Regions from separate parts of the Homo sapiens genome. Here regions 1, 3, 4, 5, 6 and 7 are each linked to region 2. The links are contacts of gene promoters, found by promoter capture Hi-C in blood cells and fetal thymus (Javierre and others, 2016). All regions are on one chromosome and are shown on one strand. Each heading gives the region's core, a stretch centred on a gene start or on the middle of the fragment in contact. The rest is flanking DNA. Distances are from core to core; before and after follow the strand shown.

Region 1 (2,700 bases), core at 65-2,564, 170 kb before region 2:
TACCAAAAAGTTCTCTGAAATATCGGAATGCTAATGGAGCGTATGTCTTAAATCTAAAGTCTGGGTAGTGATGTGCTGGGGTCAGATTGCTCCCTTCGCTGAAGTCAAAATATTAAAAAGAGAGAGAAAGAAAGAACACATTAGCAAGGACAATTTTGACCGCAAATTGTAGCTCTATTAGTCCTGGGCCAATGTTATCTCTAGAAAAATCATCCCCTGAGAGCGGGTTTCTCAAAGTTCATGTCATAAAGGCCAATGATAACCAGGCAGAATAAGACGTTAGTTAGTGAGGTCACTCCGTGCAGGCTTTCCCTGTCAATCAGTGTCACATGCCTGAAAATTCATTTATCCCCTTGTGCCTTCTTCCTGGGAAGATCACTCCATTATCACCAGTGTAACCACATTGTAATGCTTTGGGTAAAAGATCTAGGCCTTAGAGTGTGGAGCAATTTCAAAAATGCATTTTTTTAACCACGAATTTTGGATATTTGACAAACATTGTTAACCAGGGATAAGTGAAATAATTCTTAAAACATCCTACCAACAGAGAGAACCATCACATGGAATAGGACCCCAATCTGAACTCTTTTATTTACATTTTCCAAAAAAGGAGACCTTACATATTTAAAAAATTTAAAACCTGATTTCCATTCCTCAATATATCATTATCTTCTTTTCCTTTTTCTGGGTTCATTTTGAAAAATTATACACAATATTTATGATATATAAAATGTACAAAGAATAAACCAGTGAATATCAATGAATCCAAAATGCTGCTTAAGACATAAAACATTATCCATACAGTTGAAGCCCCTTCTGTACTTTTTACTGCTCAGATCCATAGAGGGATCCACTGGCCTAAATGTTGATGTTTATCAATCTCATCCTTTTTATTCTTTGACTCCATACAATATTACCTAATACATGAGCTCAGTCAAACCACCTAAGCCACTCATTCTTAAATTTTTCAGTGTTTTTGTTCTTAAAATTTTCAGAAAAATTAGAACAATGCAATAGAATTTTATGTAAAGGTTCAAAATCCCTTTGATCTACATTCTAGGTGGGACATTGAGAGCCTATGCAAGTTTATCATGGTCTGCTTTTTATGGATACCACACAAAAAGGACTGGGCAAATGACAAAGGCTTTCAGCACAGAATAAACACTTTGGATCTACTATAGTTTAAGTTGTTCAGATCAATCAGATTCTTGCATCAATGCCTGGCACATAGCAGACACTCAATAAGTATTTGTTGAGTGAAGGAATGAGTCTTCAACATAATGTTAACAGAGAAGATTTGATTATTACATGGAATTTACATTAGAAAATCAATATGTAAGGCAGAAATTCAGCATAGTCACAGGTCACCCTTGAAAACTATTTAGGAAGTATCTATTCAATATAACCAACGCAACTAGTTTTTCCTCCTGCACGATTACAGATGACTGTTTTTTTTTTTTTTTTTTTTTTTTTTTTTTTGCTGAGTACCAGAGGATGGAGCTGGCTTGTGTTGTTAGGGGTCAGCACCATATAATAAATGGTTATCTTGAAAGGCTAGGATTACACTCAGGCAGCAGCCCGGCTACACACTAGGAGAGTGACACAGGGACTAAGACTGCCTGAGAGAAGAGCAGTCACATAGTAAGGAATGACCCCCAAATCATCCACTCATTCAAATGGTTATTGTTGAATATTCAGTATGCATGATGCCCCAGTGCTGTACCCAAACATTTTCTCTTTCTATATTTTGGGATTTAGGAGGGGATTAAATCCCATGGGACTGTCAAAAGGAATGATTCTGGAACTTATATGGCATGTAATAATTTATTAATATAAATGTAGATCATATAGAAATAAAGGGTAAAAGCAAAGAGGCTCAAAGAGACCTATAACATCCTTCCTCACTTTTGCAAGCGAGTAAAAATAACCACAAGGCCTTAGGTTCTGAAGCAGGCTGCTTTCAGTGGGCTAAGAGTGTTGCCAATTTCTTCTCTCTTTTTCACCTTCTATCCCATACAAAGTAACTCATTCTACTGGAGCAGATTTCCTTCAACATTCAAAGAGGTAAGATAAAACACCCATGTTCCACCTAAATGGAGTTTCTCATTTTGTTGCAGTTTTGGGCCCAAGATTTTATCAGAGAGGATGCTGCATTTACTATTATTATTTTCATTTTGGGTTAGTTCTGAGCTCCTTGGATTATTCATCTTTCCCTGAAGTTTCCATTAATTATAATAATTTTCCTTGGGTTCACATCTCTCTGACTGCTGTGATTTATTCAGTTATGGTATAAAACGATAGTGTTAGGTTTCCCTGGAGGTGAGACAGACACACAGACACACGTACACCCATACACACAAGAATGCTCATGTACACACAGCAGAGCAGCTTCAGGTAGAGAAGGGGAACATTTATTTCCTTAGGCATACAGAAATAATAACAGGTATTTGGTCATTCAAAAAAACCACTAAATCATTCCATGAAAAAGAATTAAATCTAGCTATCTTTGGGCCATATTAAGACATGGAGAAGTATGGGCCAACTGTGAGGCAGGCTTACCTACATGGGATAATCAAGAAATTATATTTGTATAAACAGAGAAAATGAAAAGGAGTGGGCATAATACTTAATGGAGGCATCATACAGAATGGATGTTGCTTCATGGCGTAATTAACATACAGGAAATAACAATTAATTGCT
Region 2 (2,700 bases), core at 77-2,576:
GATTCGATGAAAGAATTAATCAATCTACCCAAATAACTTCTCCGGAATAGGTTTCTACTCAGCCACGCTGGGCACCAGACAAGAGAGCTGGGGGTTGGGGGGGATAAGAAATGACAACACGCTCATCTGCATAGATGCCAGATAAGCAGACATTTGTTTTCTTCTGTTCTGGCGACTCCTGGCACCGGCATAGTAAATCAAACCCGGGCATTCTCCCTCCCCAGTGCCCCTACACTCCCAGCCCCTGCCCCAGATGTTGAAGCGTCACGTTGACCAGGCTGGGGGAGAAAGCCTGGGAAACGCAGAAGTCTGTTGCTGCATTTAGACTGGAACCATACCGCACCTGTTCAATCCGGCACCAGCGCCAGAAATGAGCAGAACACCAACTCGCAAGCCCCTCTTGAGATACCAGGGCGCCTAACAAGTTCACCGCTGTTTCGTACCGGGGGAGGGTGGTGGGAGACCTTTCCTTCCGCTGCCAAACTCTGCAGGTTCCCCGGAAAAGGGGAGAGTACTCCTATTTAAGTGAACCCAGAGTGATCTCCGAGTGTCACTGCGGCCCCGGGGATCCGGGTGACGAGCGGGTGGGTGTCCGTTGGGAGCGCGCAGCTGTGGCCCCCGCGGAACGAAGGTCCGCTTCGGTGGCCACGGGCGCCCTCTCCACGTCACCCCCAGCACAACGCAGACAGGCAAAGTGGAAGGGTAGAGAGACCGACGGGTTTCAGCAGAGATGCAGAGCCCCTAAGCGCAAGCCCCTCAGAAGGGTCTAGTGGGAAGGGGCCGGGGACGCACAGGAAACTTACCTCACCCGGGCAGCATTCGGGTGCCTCCGCTACCAAGACCAGTTGCGCCACAGTCTGCAAGTTATCGGGACGTTGTCGCTTCCCCACAGCGAAGGGAGAGCAGTGCAGGCGAGGGGCGGGAGGGGCGGGAGGGGCGGGAGGGCGGAGGGGGCGGCGGGCGGGGCCGGGGCCGGGGGCAACGCTGAGGGCGGGCAGGTGCCGGGGCTGGAGCCGCGGGGCCAAACTCGCTCCGGACGCGCCTTGGCGGGGGCGCGCGGCTACGAGTGTGCAGTGCGCGCGCGCCGCGGCGAGTGTGTGTGTCCCCGCTTTCCCCTTCCTTCCCCGCCGGTCCTCCGGCCAGACGGAGCAGCGAGCGGCCGCCAAAGCCCAGCAGCTCCGAGCGGCTCCACTGCCGGGCGCAGCCTCGCCGCGGCGCGTTCGGGGACCGGGAACCGGGGACCGAGAGGAGCAGCAGCGGCGCCCGCCGGGCTCGGGCGCGGGTTCCCGCTTGGTGCGCGCCGGAGTCGGAGCGAGGCGCAGAGAGAGCCGGCTGCGCGGCGGCTGCCGCGGCTGGGGAGGCTGCAGGCCCCGCCTGCCGGCCGCCCAGGCTCTTCCCCTTTTCTCTCCACCCACTTGCCCCATCCCCGCAAGCCCTGCAGCGAAGGCAGACCGGTTTGCAGCACCTGCCGCAACAGCGGCCGGAGCTTCAGCCGCAGTGGGCTGGGCGTCTCAGCCGGTGTGTGGGGACCGGGCGCCTGTCCCGCCGCCGCTGGCCCAGACTGAGAGCGGGGTTGGGGTGGGCCCCTGGAATTGGCGGGTGCCTCCAAGACTCCAGGGGTTCCCGGCCGTTCTCAGCGTCTTGAAGCCCTGCGAAACAGGGCTGTGGGGATAGGGCGTCCCCTTTCCCCAGGCCACAGAACTCAGCTACGCCTGGTCGCCCGCCTGCTAGACTCTGCCTGAGGCGGCGAAGCCGGCACTTGAGCGCAGGCGCCCCCTTCACGAGGAAGGGACAGGCCAGGATTCCAAGGCGTTGGTTGCTCCCATTCTAAGGACAGCAGGTGTTCCCAGCAAGTAAGACCTACCCAACAGGTAGGGGTAGGCTGGCGAGGAGGTCCTAGGAGAGAGAAGCTGGGGGATGTCATGGGAAAGCGCTGTGACGGGGCTGAGGGCCAATTCCTACTGATAGCGCTTAGTGGGCTGGGGGCACTTGCAACGTCACCTGATGTCAGTCTAGCTGCGAAGAGGGTAGGGGTCAGATCTAAAGGACTCCTTTGGGAAAATGCTATCATGAAAGCTAAAGCTAAATTCACTTAATAGGAACCAAAAGGTAGCGGATCCTTCGCGGCTGAATTGAAGCAAATGGTATTTTTCAGCCTCATCACTTCCTTCCACTTACCCTTCTTTACCAAAAACAACGCCGGTGGAAAACGTGGGATACATTCTGTCTGGGGAATAACAACATTTCATGATCCTTATCTTCAGAGATCTCTGGCTTCCAGTTTCTGTTTGAAGGATACTCCCTTAGTTCTCTGCAAATGAACACCTCTTTTCAGTTTTGTAATCTCTTTGTTTCTCTCACCCCCCACCTTGAGTGAGTCTGCTATGGTTTAATATCAGCCTTGAATCAAGTGCAATAATTTCTTGATAACAGAAGTATCTATTTTTTTTTAGCTTTACTGAGCCATAATTGACAAATAAAACAAATATCTGTTATTCTTCAGCTGTTTTCCCAGCCTGCTTCTTGCAGATGTGGCTGGCCATTACTGAGAGATTTAAGGTATGGTTTGTTTAGAACCCTGTGACTTGGGTCTGGTTTTCTCCTGGCATCCTAGACGCTTCACAGCTCAGAGCAGGAGGAACATACATCTAGTCCAGCCCTCCCGCTTTACAGATGAGGAAACTAAGGTCTCAAGACATT
Region 3 (2,700 bases), core at 134-2,633, 250 kb after region 2:
TTGTGTACTATGAACATTTCCCCTTCCTTTTCTCCTGCTAACCTGTCCACCAATATCACAGAAAAGAATTCATCAGTCCTGGGTATGGTTCTTATTTTTGGCTCTCTTTAGGGAGTTCCTGTTTTTTGGACAATAGATTAATATCTCTCAGGGCCAAAACTCTACCGATTCCAGGCGGAGATGCCCTGAGCAGGGCAACATGCAAAACTTTGCATTCCCTTTGGGAATGTGAGTGTCAGCTGTCCATGGTGGGTTCAGAATACCATGGATTGAACACCACATTCCACCTGTTTCATTTCATCGTGTAACTCTGATCTGTGACCCAATGGATGACGCAGGTTGCTGTTTCCTATGAAGCCAAATCAGGTCACAGGCAGCTCTCTCTGCATGGTTCCGAGAAGACGAGCATATATCAAGGGATGCACAGGCAGCCACCCTGCCTGAAAGGAACCATCTTCAAGACTGCATTTACCTTCCCAGGGTTTCCTTCGGTCACCCAGGTTTGAGTTTAATTTTATCAGGAAGCATAAGGAAAGGTCATGCCATACTAATTCTGCTCTAATGTCTTTTAAAGAAACACTTCAGTTTAATGACACATAGTTACGAGGAAAGGGAATATTGGAAAGGTCAATGTTCTTTTGTGGGACGTGAGAGTTTTACAGCAAAAGCTAAGGCTGAGTGAGCAGGAAAGGCAGGCAAACATGCGCTGCCTGTGGAATCCAGTTTAATGTCTTAGCACGGAGGAGAGTAGGGACTCTCAGTCCCCACGCAGCTCCACCCCTTCTTGCAGTGCAACCTTGGCCAAGTTACTTAACCTCCATAAGCCTGGATCTTTTACCTACAAAATGGAATGATAATATGTCTCCTTACTCAGTGGGGACTAAATGCGATGAGGCCTGGGAGCCCTGGATCCCCAGAGCACTCCGTGGGCATCGGCAAGAGTGATCGGCCTCATGAACTCTCCTACTGCGGCATCATCCTGCCATAACAAACTATTTTTGAGATGGAGCCCCCTTCAAGCACCAGGCCACTTCAGTTCTTTGCACACATCGTTCACTTAGGTAGGGATACTCCTTGTATCAATGAGGTCCCCAACAGAATTGATGGCACACTCAAAACTGAGTAGTTTGAGAGTTTAATACAGGAACTGTTTACACAGGTGTGGCTAGTGGAGAGGGCAAGTAACATCAGGGCTACCAGCGTCCCATCCCTAGATTCATTACTGAAATCCAGGGACAGATCTGTGTGGATAGGGCTGCTTGGCAGGAACCTTGACCTTCAGAAGAGTCATGTTTCCAGCCTATGGAAATCCTATAGGGAGAGAAAGAAATCCCTGCTTGCATTCTCCTCCTTCTGTCTAGTAACTGCAGTGCTCCCAATTGCCCAAGCCCAACTAAAATCTGGAGGGAAGGGTGGGGATCTCTTGATAGTCCCTATAGGTCAGTCTACAGGACGGGGAGCAGAGAGAAAGAGATGGAGTGGAGGTCTTGAAGGAAAATGAAAGACACCAGTACACTCTTCATCCACCCCCTCCTGGACTTAGGCCGCTTCCTTACTTTCCAGGTTTATCTGGCCAGTCCTCTCTTTGTACTGCCACTGCAAACCCCAGGAGTTAGACACTCAGCACAGGATATTGCCTTAGATGCTGGGACACCTAACTCCTTCTCTAATCCGTTAGTCTCTTGAAGGTAAGTGCTTAAAGACACTTGCTCATTTCATGCAAACTTCATGGGGCCCATCAGAACATGGACTCCTCCTACATTAATATAAAGGTGCTTCCAGAACTTGGTCTTAAAATACCAGTGGAAGCAAATACATGGGATGATTGAAAGTTTGAGATAAGGAGGGAGATTACAGCATGTTCACCCCTGTAATCCCAACACTTTGGGAGGCCAAGGAGGGGGGATAGCTTGAGCCCAGGAGTTTGAGACCACCCTAGGCAAAACTCCTGGCTCAAAAAAAGAAAAAATACTAAAATTAGCCAGCTGTGGTGGTGTGCACCTGTAGTCTCATCTACTTGGGAGGCTGAGATGGGAGGATTGCTTGAGCCCAGGAGTTCAAGGCTGCAGTTAGCTATAATTATGCCACTGTACTCCAGCCTGGGCAGCAGCAAGACCCTGTCTCAAAAAACAAAACCAAACCAGAAAGTTTAAGATAAAATTAAGCGATGGTGGATGAATTTCCAAAGGAATTACATACAAAGGGTTGGCTGAAAAGGTTAATAACCTTATATGTTAATTTACCAAGTCCAGTGCTATAAATTTATTATGAAAAGGTAAGAGACTATGGTAAAAGTGGACTCTCTACTTTGGCAGGATATTTCAAAACCAAATGCTCATTTCATTGTAAAACTTCACAAAGAGGGTAGAGTATACATTTCTCACATTTACACAGAGCACCTTGTGGAGTTGGTGGTTTCATTCAGCACACATGGGAAAATGCTGGCTAAGATTTACCAACCAATATTTTCTTCATAGGACTATGATAGTGGTGGGGTCCAAGGGAATTTACTCCTACTGAACACTTTTGAAGAGCAAGGGAGAAGAAGGACTATGTTAAATGCTTTTAACTCACATCAAGGATTCCCAGCAAGATGTCTTGTCCAAAGAGCCTTGAGAAAGGAGATGTTGGAAGGTGATGCCTTGGAAGCAGAGATACCCCTCCTCCAGGTCCTAGTTTGCACTAAGCTCTGAACTCAGC
Region 4 (2,700 bases), core at 140-2,639, 190 kb after region 2:
AAATGTATAACTGGGAAATCTCAGTATATCATCAAAGTATCTTAGCTTTTGTTAAACACCACACTGACTGTCCTGACTGTAATTCCCAAGAATATAATTAAAAGCAAAGAAAGAAAGAATAAAAACAACAGAATTGCTACTTCCTAGGGAAATGGGGTGAGGTTCCTTGGAGACTGGGTTTGAGGATCACTGTTAATGTGACTGAAATGCACTAGAACCTTGTTATCAGCTCCCGGAAGCCCCATTCACAGGGACATGCAATGTCACAGCACTCCCTGGCTTGGGGTCACTACTGAATGTCACGTGTTTGCTTCCCTTTCTTTGTAAGAATTCACCAGGGCTCATATTCATACTTTTCTTTTTTCATCCCATTTATTTCTTAACGTTTTTCCCTTTTCTTCTGACATAGTGCTGCTCTTCTGAAAATCATGTGTAAGCAATTGCTTTAAAAAGAAAAATGAAGAACCCTTCTGACAAGAAACAAAAGACCTGAAAAAGGAATTTGATTTCATGAATACAAACATAATCATTTCCCTTTCATGTTTGGTTGCAATCAAAAGCTATGGAGTTCAACCTCAGAAGCCTCATGCTGGAGATTTCCAGAGAGATTTGATATTTTTTTCCCTAAAACTTCACAATTCATCTATGTATACAAATATACACAAATACAAATGTAATTTTGAAATTTATAGTGTGTATGGTTTACCCAAACTCATGTTGATACATGCTGTACTGAATGTAATCAGAAATTGTAAATAACGTGTCATATTCAGAAACCTATAAGGCAAGGATCAACAAATTATAGGCCTTAGGCCAAACCCTGGCCACCACCTGGTTTTGGTGCAGCCATAAAAATGGTTTTTATGTTTAATGGTTGGGAAAAAAATAAGATTTTGTGACATGTTAAAATTATCTTAAGTCAATTACAGTGCCTATAGTTTTATTGGAATATAGCTTCACTAATTCATTTATGTATTACCTGTGGCGGCTTTTGTGCAACAGTGGCAGTTGAGAAGTTGTAACACAGACCATACGACTAATATTATGGGTTGAATTTGTCTTCCATAAGTGCATACGTTGAGGTCCTAATTGCCAATACCTCAGAATGTGACATTATTTTAAGACGGGGCCTTTACAGAGGTACTCATGTTAAAATGAGATCATTAGGGTGAGGTCTAATCCAATATGACTGGTGTCCTTATTAAAAGGGGAAATTTGGACCCAGAGACACACAAGAAGGAAGATGATAATGAAGAGATACAGGGAAAAGACAGCCATCTATGAGCCAAAAAGAGAGGCATGGAACAGATCAACAGATCCTTCCCTCACAGCCCTCAGAGGGAACCAGCTCTGTCAACACACTCATCTCAGACTTCTAACCTCCAGAATAAGAAACAAGTTCTTGCTTTGTAAGCCACCCAGTTTGTGGTACTTTGTTATATCAGCCCTAGCAAACTAATACAGCTAGCAAAGCCTAAACTATTTACTCTCTGGGCCTATTCAGAAAAAACTTGACTCCTGCTCCAAGGGACCAGTTTTTCTGTTTAATCCCTTGAAGCCAGAGAGCACATGCCTCCTGGCTAGTCAAAGAAACTTCAGGCATCCTTTCTTCAATGAACCTGCCTTTCATCACACACCCACTCCAGTGTTCAAGCCCTTTCTCTCTGGTAAAAGAGCTTGGAACAACCAACAGATTGCACATTATTTGGATGAAATGAAATCATTGAACAACCCCTACTCACTACCTCTTACTCCAAGCCAGGAGGGCAGTGAATTTGTTCCATGAATGGAGAGACAAGTAGAGAAACTCCACTTCATCCTTGAACCTTCTGACAAAGCATGGTACATCTAAAATGCCATGTCATGAGAGCCCTGGGAGCTCTCAGAGAAGACCTAGGTTTTTAGAAGCTGTCAGTTCTCTTGGGACATTTCTCATAGATCCAGTTTGGTCTCTGAGATGTTAATGGGAGGGAAAAGGACAAGTCAATTGCATTATAAAACAAATTGCTAAGTAATCTGGGAATCTTTTATCCTCATGTGATAAGAAAATGAGTCAATACCATTATTAATAAAAATAATGGTGGTGAAACCCCTTCTCTACTAAAAATACAAAAATTAGCCAGGCATGGTGACGCATGCCTGTAGTCCCAGCTGCTCAGGAAGCTGAGGCAGGAGAATTGCTTGAACCTGGGAGGTGGAGGTTGCAGTGAGCTGAGATTGCACCACTGCACTCCAGCCTGGTGACAGAGTGAGACTCCATCTAAAAAAAAAAAAAAAAAAAAAAAAAGGCAAAAACAATAACATTAGTGACAATCAACATTTATTGAACATTTATTCACATGTCAGGTATAAACCAAAAATATAATTCTAAGCCCCAAACTGACTGAATGGACATCTCCTCCCTGCCCCTAATCATTGGCCAAAAGGATCCCGAAAACTAGTTCAGGCCATAACAGGAAAAGGGCGTAGCATATGCCTCAATATATCCTCCTCTCTGGAGCTTAGCTGTTGACATTTAGAGATTCTAGGACTGACAGAACAGACTCTTTGTAGCAGTAAGATACCAAATTCCAACCTGACCCTGATATAGCATCAGATGACAGATAACAGGCACTGAAGGAAATCAAAGCATCTTACCCCAAAATATATTTCTTTGACGTAATTTGGAATGGCTCTACAAAGCCATCTTTTGTGGGGGAA
Region 5 (2,768 bases), core at 112-2,611, 210 kb after region 2:
ATTGTTATAAGGATATAAAATCCCTCCATTCCCTGGTGTTCCAGCTTCTAGTCATAGGTTCACCTGAACCTGTATTTGGCTCAAATCAACTTACCTCTCACCACCTACTCCTAACATAAATGAATTTATTAAATTGCACTTTAGTTTTATGTTCTCACTTTTACTGCAGGATGCTACAAGCTATGTCTTATAAAATCCACTTTTGTAGTCACTAGTAGAAATATTGTTAGAGGCTGTATGAAGCTCTGCCTGAGACATTCCTTCAAGAGCCAAGTATTAGGAAAGCCTTTCCTTCCCTAAGGAACTTGTATTCTTTTTCTTTCTGACAATAAGAACTTTGTAACTAACCACATTTCCCTTTTCGATATGGCTGCCAGGATACTTAATGCCAAATTTGAGGTTCAGCCCAAGTGGATCCTCATGACTTGCATGACTATAAATTTTTCTTCTTCTGTTCTTGACTCTACTCTTACTTATATATTCCCTAGTCTTGATTTATGTTTCTTATTTATATTCTAACAACTTCATTATGTGTGTTTTTGCCGCCACAAGTCTTGAAGAAACAAGGCTCAGTGAAAATGAATAAAACAAGTTTCCACCGCAGTGTTAACCTTAAAATTTTGGACTTGCTGAGTTATGACTTTGGGTTCTTCATTAGCTAACAAGCTCTGGGAGGACAGAGCCTTATATACCTCATTCATCATCATTTTATCCACATAGCCTAGGACAATGCCTGGCACACTGTAGACCTTCCATAAACACTTGTTGAATGAATGTCACTGCACGTTCGACAACTAAAGTGAGCACCACTGCAGTCCCCCTGAGGCAGTCTCAGAGAGCCTGCCTTCGCATTTAGCAAGGATCCACAGGCTACATGAAAACACATGCACGTTCTTCATGGTGAACTAGAGCTGATGTATCTACCTTGAAGAGTGGTTGCAAAAGATAAACTAAGAAAGTGCCTGGCATAGCATCATCATGGCAGGGCTTGACTGTTTATTCCTCCACCATTTCTCAAGATGTCTTAAGACAAGGGCCAGTTTTGGCTAAAAACAATGGAGTTGAACCATGGTAGGTTCTTGTCCCCAGATGTATGACCTTAGGCAAACCATTAGCTCATTAATTGCAAAATGCTACATATTGAAATCAGTGGGAGGTCTTTAAAAAATGGTGGTGCCTGGCTTTCACCCCAAACATTGTGATTTAATTCTTTTGGGGTGTTACTTGGGAATTAGGATTTTAAAAGCTTTCTGGGTGATTCTAATGTGCAGTAACTAATTGCAATAACCTCTTTTTTCTGGGTCACTTGCCTCATCTATCAAGTGACTGGACTGTGCTACATGTCCCTTATAAGGAAGGTCCCTTTAGGATTTAAGGTTTCATACATAGGCTCTCACTGGGCTGGGACTGTAGGAGGGCTGTTAACACAGTGAGGCTAATAAAACAACTTCATGCCACTGAATCCTGAAAGCTTCCCCCTGGGGCCTTGTCAGCAGCAGAACCACCTCTTGAACCATCTGACATTATTATTTTTTTTTTTTAGCACAGTCTTCGTAGGAATTCCTGGAGCAACTGTGAAAGAATTCATGATATCTCACTAGCCACAGCAGCTAGAGTAGCCGGAATATCCAGGATGACACATAGCCACACACTCAAAAAAGGGAAAAATATGCTCTCCTTTATTAGAAGACAATGTTAATTATGTGGTGGGGAGGAGTGTGGGTATCAAAAGAGCACTTCAGTTCCAGCTTAGTGTTTTCCTTACTTTTCAGTGCCTGTGGTTGTGAGCTTTAATGATGACAGTCGAGTTCTGCTCACCTTAGCTTTGTCCCAGTGAAGAATGATTGATAAAGGATTTCATAACCCTTGTCCATATGCAGCTATCTCCACACAAAAATCCTTCAGTGTGCTTCCAGTTATCACTGTAGCATCTCTTTTTCTCCCTGGATTTGCCCCCTCTTTGATTTGCTGTTTATGAAGAGTCAGTTTGGAAATGATACAAGAATAGCAACTGGATAAACTCAGGCTAGAATGCTGGCTTGGCCACTTTTTTAGCTGGTGGTCTTGAGTCACTTAAGCTCTCTAAGCCTTAGTTTCCTAAAAAGCAGTTGAAAAATAATACAGCCTAGCTTATTGGGTTGTTGTGAGTGTCAGATCTTAACATCCTGAAAGAAGGATCTTAGAGTCATTCTTGCCAATCTCTCTTTTTATTGAAAAGAAAGAAGTTAAAACACTTGCTCAAGGTAACGTATTTAGTAAATGGAGGAGCTTCATTTACTTCCATTTAGGTCTTCTGACTCTAGGCTTACAATCTGAGGTTGAACCATATGCAACTACTGATATTCACACATTGCTTCTCATGCGAAATATCTGAACAATATCTTATGTTTTGTATTTTTCCCAAAGCTGACACAGAGCCTTATGTAGAGTAGGTATCTGATAAATGTTTGATAAATAAATGTTAGGGTTTTTACTATTTTTTTAATTTTAAAAATAAACCCTTGTGTAAATCAATACAGGGAAATCTGTAAGTTGCTAAATACACACAGAGCTGCCAGATATTAGTTTGGAGACTGTAGGACATGTTGTAGCCAGGCAGGGAAGGGTGAACTGTACATTACCAACAGTTATTTGGCAGCATTGGACCTAGTCAAATACTGACTTGGGATGAATTCCAGGGGAAAACAGCATATGGCCCTGCAATCTGGTACAGTGTCGCATATATAGTCAGTTGGCCACAGCAGGCATGTGAACCTGGAGACAGGACA
Region 6 (2,766 bases), core at 10-2,509, 190 kb before region 2:
AACCAAACAACTATAGCTCCCGGAACACATTGTGCTATTTCACACCCATTGTTTCATACCTATTGTTCTCTTATCCTAGAAATATGCTTCTACTGCTTTGCCTATCCGGAGAAAGCTTCTCATCCTTTAAAAGCAAGCTACAATGTTCCCTACTCTAATCTTCACAATATAATATCATTGCACATACTAGACTGTATGGCAATTGATAAAAAATAAAGGTCGTGCACCTCATGCTTGGCATGTAGTGTGCTTGCAATATGTGCTGATAAGTGAATAGAAGCATATATCCTAATATAGGTTTAGTTCACCTTTCTCTGCCTGGGGTGCTGATACAGTAATACATTTCTCTAACTGGTTTGTTTCTAGAGCCTTAGCCATACTGTCTCACAGGAATTTTAGCAGAGGAGATTCCTGATTGATAGGTGCTGGCCTCAGCTCAGACTAACCTTGCAGACCCTCTGGGTCTCTGCAGCCCCTCAGCCAGCACTGAGGCTCAGCTCTGCAAAGCAAGGGCAATATTGGGGCGATGTCAACCACATATCCTATTGCAATCATCCAGTGAGTTGGCCTTTCAGAGGATGACCTGAAGAGAGAGAGAGGTAACTCTAGGAAGGGGATTCTGAGCCTTGGGGAAGAAGGAAGGGAAGGAACAACGGGCTCCAAGAGATTCACGATCCATCACGAGGATGGGCATTTTTTGGGGGGAGGAGAGTTCACAGCATTCATACGATTTACTAAGAGGCCCTTGACTATTAAATATTAATATTCACCATTCCAGAAATAGGCTTTCCTTGAGGCAGCTCTGCTCAGAGCACCAGCTGTTGAATCCAGATCCCAGAGGACTTGGTCATGGTCAGGACAGATCAGGGAAGGGAGCTGAGTTCCCCTACAGCTCAGCATTTACACACTCCCATACCAGCCCAAGAGAAGCCTTTCTGAAGGCAGATGTACATATTTTGAAGAATGTCCAGGATCTGTGTCTTGTACAACTGCAAATGCAGTGAGTAAGAGGGAGTTAGCCTCAGGATACCTCTACCTTGACCTTTATGTTCCTTAGAACAACAAACCTGCCAAAGAATAAAAAATAAAAAGGCAAATCTCCAGGGTCTCACTTGTGATGAAAAGTTTGGTTTGACCTCGCGGTCTCAGTCCTGAGCTCAGGAAACACTAATAAATAGACAAATCCTGAGCAATGGCTCTTTTACATTTGCTTTTTTTTTTTTTTCTGGCAGAGAAGCATGTGGTATTAGAAGGCAGCAGATAAAGGCTTTCCATACTAAAGAGGCAAGAAGCACACAAAAGAGAAAGCAAACTTAAAACTGGAGAGGCTGACACTAAACTCTGGGGAATTGAGAGTCACTTTTTACCCACATCCTGTAAAGGGCAGAAAAAACACAGGAAAAAGATTTCTACTAAAATATGTGTGTTCTGTTTTTACGTTTTTTGAATAGAAAAACATGCATCACTCAAATCCACTCAGATATCTGAATATCTGCTGGACGTTTTTTGTTCGTCTGTTTGCTTGGTTCCTACTGCTCCTTCCCTGACTTCTGAAAAGATAATTAAAAAAAAATCCTCAGAGTGAGACTTTAAGTTTTAGTTGTTAGAAGCACATGCCTTTGTACCCAAACAGATGTGGGCTCTGTCATTGACTTGGTAAGTAATGCTGGATAAGTTTCTGAATCTCTTTAAGAACCCAATTCTTCAGCAATTAAAATGGAAGTATGAATAGTACTGACTCCAAAGAATTGCTGAGAGAATTAAGTGAAATGATGCATTAAAAAAACCTTAGACTAACCTGGCATACTGTAAGCATTCAATAAACGGTAGCTAAACAATAGGAGTAACATCTCTGTCAATAAAGAAAAACAATTCTAAGGACACATTTTTGTGCACAATCATGCAAGCTATAACAGGCAGAAAGGAAGAAATAAAAAAAAAAAAAACAGAAACAGTAGACCTGTGTTCCTTAGTGGAAATTCCCTACTTTATACCTTAGAAGGGGTGTCAGACTGTCTTCCTCACCTTCACGTGAGTTTGGGTCTGGCAGAGAAGTGTCTCCCCTCCCCTATAACAACATGGGTCATCCGTCCAGGCCCATGGAAAGTGCAGAAAACCACAGCCTGTGCCATCATGCTTTCTGCCCACCTCCACTACCCAACTTAGCCAAGTGGCTGGACGGTTCTCCCATGATTATTATCCTTCAGAAGTTATTAGCACTGCATTTTTCTTTTCTCTAAAAAAATTTTTATCTCTTTTCACCATGTTAGAAAAAATCTTCCCTTAGTTTTTTTTTTTTTTTTTTTTTTAAAGCATTGCAGCCTGGGGGAATTCCTCCCCACTTTGGACAATCACTCCAGCTAAGTTTGCATGGAATGGTGTCTGCCCTAATTGGCAAGCTTCATTCCTGCTCACCTCTTATTCAGACCACATAAAATAATTTCAGCAAACGTGCTGCTCATATCATAGTTTTGCATCCACACTGATCTCTAGGGAGCCATTATTAATCCCAAGTACATTTTCTTTAAACTTGTCTCCCCAGTTCGAGTCTTACTTCTTCCAAGATTTCTATACGGCTTTTCTTACTCAACACCACATTAAACCTAAATTCTATTTCTTTCTAGTTAAACTATCTTCCCCACAGCGGAGAAAGAAAAGAAAACAAAGCTTTCTTGTTTCATTTTATCAAAGAAAGCTGACTTAGCTTATTAGTAAAATCAACAGAGATGTAGGTTAAGGACTCTAGATAACTCCCTTATCATCTAC
Region 7 (2,700 bases), core at 105-2,604, 170 kb after region 2:
TCCAAATACCCGCCCTGGTTGAAAACCAGCATGTGATGTATAGTGTTGCTTGCCATTTTTCTGCAGACACGTGCTGTAATGAGTGAACCCCTCTGTAACAGCAGATCACCAGAGTTGCCCTGGAAGTTGCCACACTCTATCCATAGTTTCCTCTGATTGACTCTTGCAGTTCCCATGAAATTTGGGGCCTTTAAAGTCATTTCCTGTTTTTTTTTTTTTTTTTTTTTTTTGAGACGGAGTCTCACATTGTCACCTTGGCTGGAGTGCAATGGCATGATCTCGGCTCACTGCCGTCTCCCGAGTTCACGCAATTCTCCTGCCTCAGCCTCCTGAGTAGCTGGGATTACAGGCACACACCACCACACTCAGTTAATTTTTTGTATTTTTAGTAGAGACAGAGTTTCACTATGTTGGCCAGACTGGTCTCAAACTCCTGACCTCGTGATCCGCCTGCCTCGGCCTCCCAAAGTGATGGGATTACAGGCACGAGCCACTGCGCCCGGTCAAGTCATTTACTCTCAAAGATCAGTGGCTACAGTGGCTACAGCTCTTTTTTTTTTTTTTTTTTTTTTTTAATAGAGTCTTGCTGTTGCCCATGCTGGAGTGCACACTGCTCCATTTTGGCTCACGGCAACCTCCACCTCCTAAGTTCAAGCTATTTGCCTGCCTCAGCCTCCTGGGTAGCTGGGATTACAAGCATGCACCACCACGTCTGGCTAATTTTTGTATTTTTGGTAGAGACAATGTTTCACTATGTTGGCCAGGCTGGTCTCAAACTCCTGACCTCAAGTGATCCACCCACCTGGGCCTTCCAAATTGCTGGGATAACAGGTGTAAGCCACTACGCCCAGCCTAGAGCTTCATCTTTAAGAACATAAAGAACATCATATGGGGAACAGTGACTTCCTGCCTCTCTCCTCTCCCGAGAATTAGGCAAGAGGATGTACACATATAGTTCGGCAAGAGAAGTTTGGATTTCAAGTAAGGCAGAAATAATATCTTGGCAATGTGAATCAGAGCAGGTTCCAGAGAATGACTGTGTCCTAGACCCACCAAAAGACCTTCCCTTGACAACATAGCTGAAAAAACTCTGTCAAAATAGGCAGCTATGTAGCTGCTTCTTCCGGTGGCTGGGCCCAAGGCTTTGCTCTGCCTGACATTCACAACCCTGTGCCTGCTTCAACCCCATGCATCCAAGCCAACTCCTCAGGAGACCCCAAGCAAGTCTCCTCTCCAGCCATCCTAACCCTCATCTCCTAGTCTGTCTTCTGACTTCACTCATCCTTGATGAAATTCTGTAAATGCTTACAAATCCCAAGCAACTCTACTCTTGTGGAAACCACTCTCGTGCCACCGTCTCTGAGTCTATTGCCCCTCTCTGTGTAGTCCCACAGCACATTATTTGTGTCTCTCATAACATTTTTGTCTAACTGATTATTTGTGTATGTTTGTCATAGCCTCCTACTCCCAAATTATAAACTTATAAGATCAGGAATAATGTTTTATCCATTTCTTTGCCCCATCTAAAACAGAACTCTGCCTAGAGGAGTTGCTCAACCAATGTCCACAGAATGAATGAATGAACACATAGATGGATGAATGGATGGACTGATGGCTAAATATATATTTGGGCTACTGTCCACGCATGACTCCATATCAAAATAAAGAAATATAATTTTTATGTAAGGACTAATTTACATATGAACTTACAAGTTAGAGATCATTAAAAGTTCAGCAACTTGAGAAAATAAATATTTTCTTACCTAGAGCTGATACACCTAAGAATACATCTGAGCGTCCCAACCAAGACATCCGTGATTAATGAACACATGGATGGCTAGCATAGATGTCCACTCTTGAGACAAGAACCTGAGAACCAAAGCTATGACATGAATTTGATTCCACTGGTGATCAATCTTGAAATGGTTTTGTTTTAGAATCTCAGCTCAAAGCCACCTTCCTATTATTTTGAAATGAAGACAGTTACAGTGGAGGTCTAGATGCCATTTCAGTTTCTGCTGACTCCCAAAGGCAGTTTTGAGTAACTTACCTTTTCTGTTCCATTTAATACATGTCTCTTGCCATAATAGTGAAAAACAGCCCTTGCAGGTTTTCTGAAAGGCAGATTTATCAGGATAGGTGACCAGTACTGGAGTTTCTCAACTGGTGAGACAAACAAATAAGTAAAAACCCACAATCCTTGGATAAGGTTGAAATTAGGAATTTCTTTTTTATTGGCCACTAAATGTCCTAGCAAGTTTCTGACAGAAGCACAGACAGAAAATGGAAACAAATACCTTACTGGGAATGTTTCCTTGCTTGCACTAACCTTGACTACAGCAATAACGCATTGCTTAACAGTCAAAGTGCACCAGGTCATTTCCGCAAATGGCAGGGTGAGTGACTGTGCCGTTCCCAAGGAAGCAAAACAGACACAAACAGGTCCCACGCGCTGGGTGTCCTGGCTGAGTACAGAGGAGGCTGCTAGACCGGCAGTACCCTTTTCCCAAGTGAGGAAAGCCAGCTGTGACACTCTGCTTGCCGGCAGGGGTCCCCACCCTCCCCTCCACCATCTGGCCCATAGCTGTACCACCAATTACATTTTCTTCCAGCTTCCACTTCATTTCCTACTTTTACAGCATTTCATCCTCTCCTTTTGCAGCCTTTACAAATAAGATCAGAAATGTGTCCAAACAAGTG

Evidence for each region. The method cuts DNA at HindIII sites, captures the fragments that hold promoters and counts their contacts. A CHiCAGO score of 5 or more calls a contact.
Region 1: a fragment that was not itself captured here is called in contact with the fragment with the promoter of PIP5K1B in region 2 in 5 of 17 cell types (naive B cells, total B cells, erythroblasts and 2 more); the score reaches 10.9 in naive B cells.
Region 3: a fragment that was not itself captured here is called in contact with the fragment with the promoter of PIP5K1B in region 2 in 1 of 17 cell types (neutrophils); the score reaches 7.1 in neutrophils.
Region 4: a contact is called between a fragment that was not itself captured here and the fragment with the promoter of PIP5K1B in region 2, in 2 of 17 cell types (naive B cells and total B cells). The highest score is 8.1, in naive B cells.
Region 5: a contact is called between a fragment that was not itself captured here and the fragment with the promoter of PIP5K1B in region 2, in 2 of 17 cell types (naive B cells and total B cells). The highest score is 5.3, in naive B cells.
Region 6: a contact is called between a fragment that was not itself captured here and the fragment with the promoter of PIP5K1B in region 2, in 5 of 17 cell types (total B cells, naive B cells, megakaryocytes and 2 more). The highest score is 15.1, in total B cells.
Region 7: a contact is called between a fragment that was not itself captured here and the fragment with the promoter of PIP5K1B in region 2, in 1 of 17 cell types (total B cells). The highest score is 6.4, in total B cells.

What each region holds. Positions count from the first base shown.
Region 1 is chr9:68,874,075-68,876,774 of GRCh38, reverse strand. It overlaps PIP5K1B (phosphatidylinositol-4-phosphate 5-kinase type 1 beta), which reads right to left. Exons shown (of 16, transcript NM_003558.4): 6 at 1-98. Among named protein-coding and RNA genes, the nearest start is that of PABIR1, 95 kb to the right of the region's middle. The HindIII fragment of the contact is 7,190 bases long and covers 1-2,700 here.
Region 2 is chr9:68,703,866-68,706,565 of GRCh38, reverse strand. PIP5K1B (phosphatidylinositol-4-phosphate 5-kinase type 1 beta) reads right to left here and starts at 1,326. Exons shown (of 16, transcript NM_003558.4): 1 at 804-1,326. RefSeq lists enhancers at 109-198, 887-1,812 and a silencer at 949-1,468. The HindIII fragment of the contact is 6,803 bases long and covers 1-2,700 here.
Region 3 is chr9:68,452,783-68,455,482 of GRCh38, reverse strand. The region is part of intron 6 of PGM5 (phosphoglucomutase 5); the gene reads right to left. Among named protein-coding and RNA genes, the nearest start is that of TMEM252, 87 kb to the left of the region's middle. The HindIII fragment of the contact is 7,166 bases long and covers 1-2,700 here.
Region 4 is chr9:68,511,133-68,513,832 of GRCh38, reverse strand. The region is part of intron 10 of PGM5 (phosphoglucomutase 5); the gene reads right to left. Among named protein-coding and RNA genes, the nearest start is that of TMEM252, 28 kb to the left of the region's middle. The HindIII fragment of the contact is 3,051 bases long and covers 1-2,700 here.
Region 5 is chr9:68,492,996-68,495,763 of GRCh38, reverse strand. All of the region lies in intron 9 of PGM5 (phosphoglucomutase 5), which reads right to left. Among named protein-coding and RNA genes, the nearest start is that of TMEM252, 47 kb to the left of the region's middle. The HindIII fragment of the contact is 225 bases long and covers 1,249-1,473 here.
Region 6 is chr9:68,894,809-68,897,574 of GRCh38, reverse strand. The region is part of intron 8 of PIP5K1B (phosphatidylinositol-4-phosphate 5-kinase type 1 beta); the gene reads right to left. Among named protein-coding and RNA genes, the nearest start is that of PABIR1, 120 kb to the right of the region's middle. RefSeq lists an enhancer at 1,277-1,426. The HindIII fragment of the contact is 2,284 bases long and covers 118-2,401 here.
Region 7 is chr9:68,530,567-68,533,266 of GRCh38, reverse strand. PGM5 (phosphoglucomutase 5) reads right to left here. Exons shown (of 11, transcript NM_021965.4): 11 at 2,206-2,700. Among named protein-coding and RNA genes, the nearest start is that of TMEM252, 9.0 kb to the left of the region's middle. The HindIII fragment of the contact is 3,321 bases long and covers 1-2,700 here.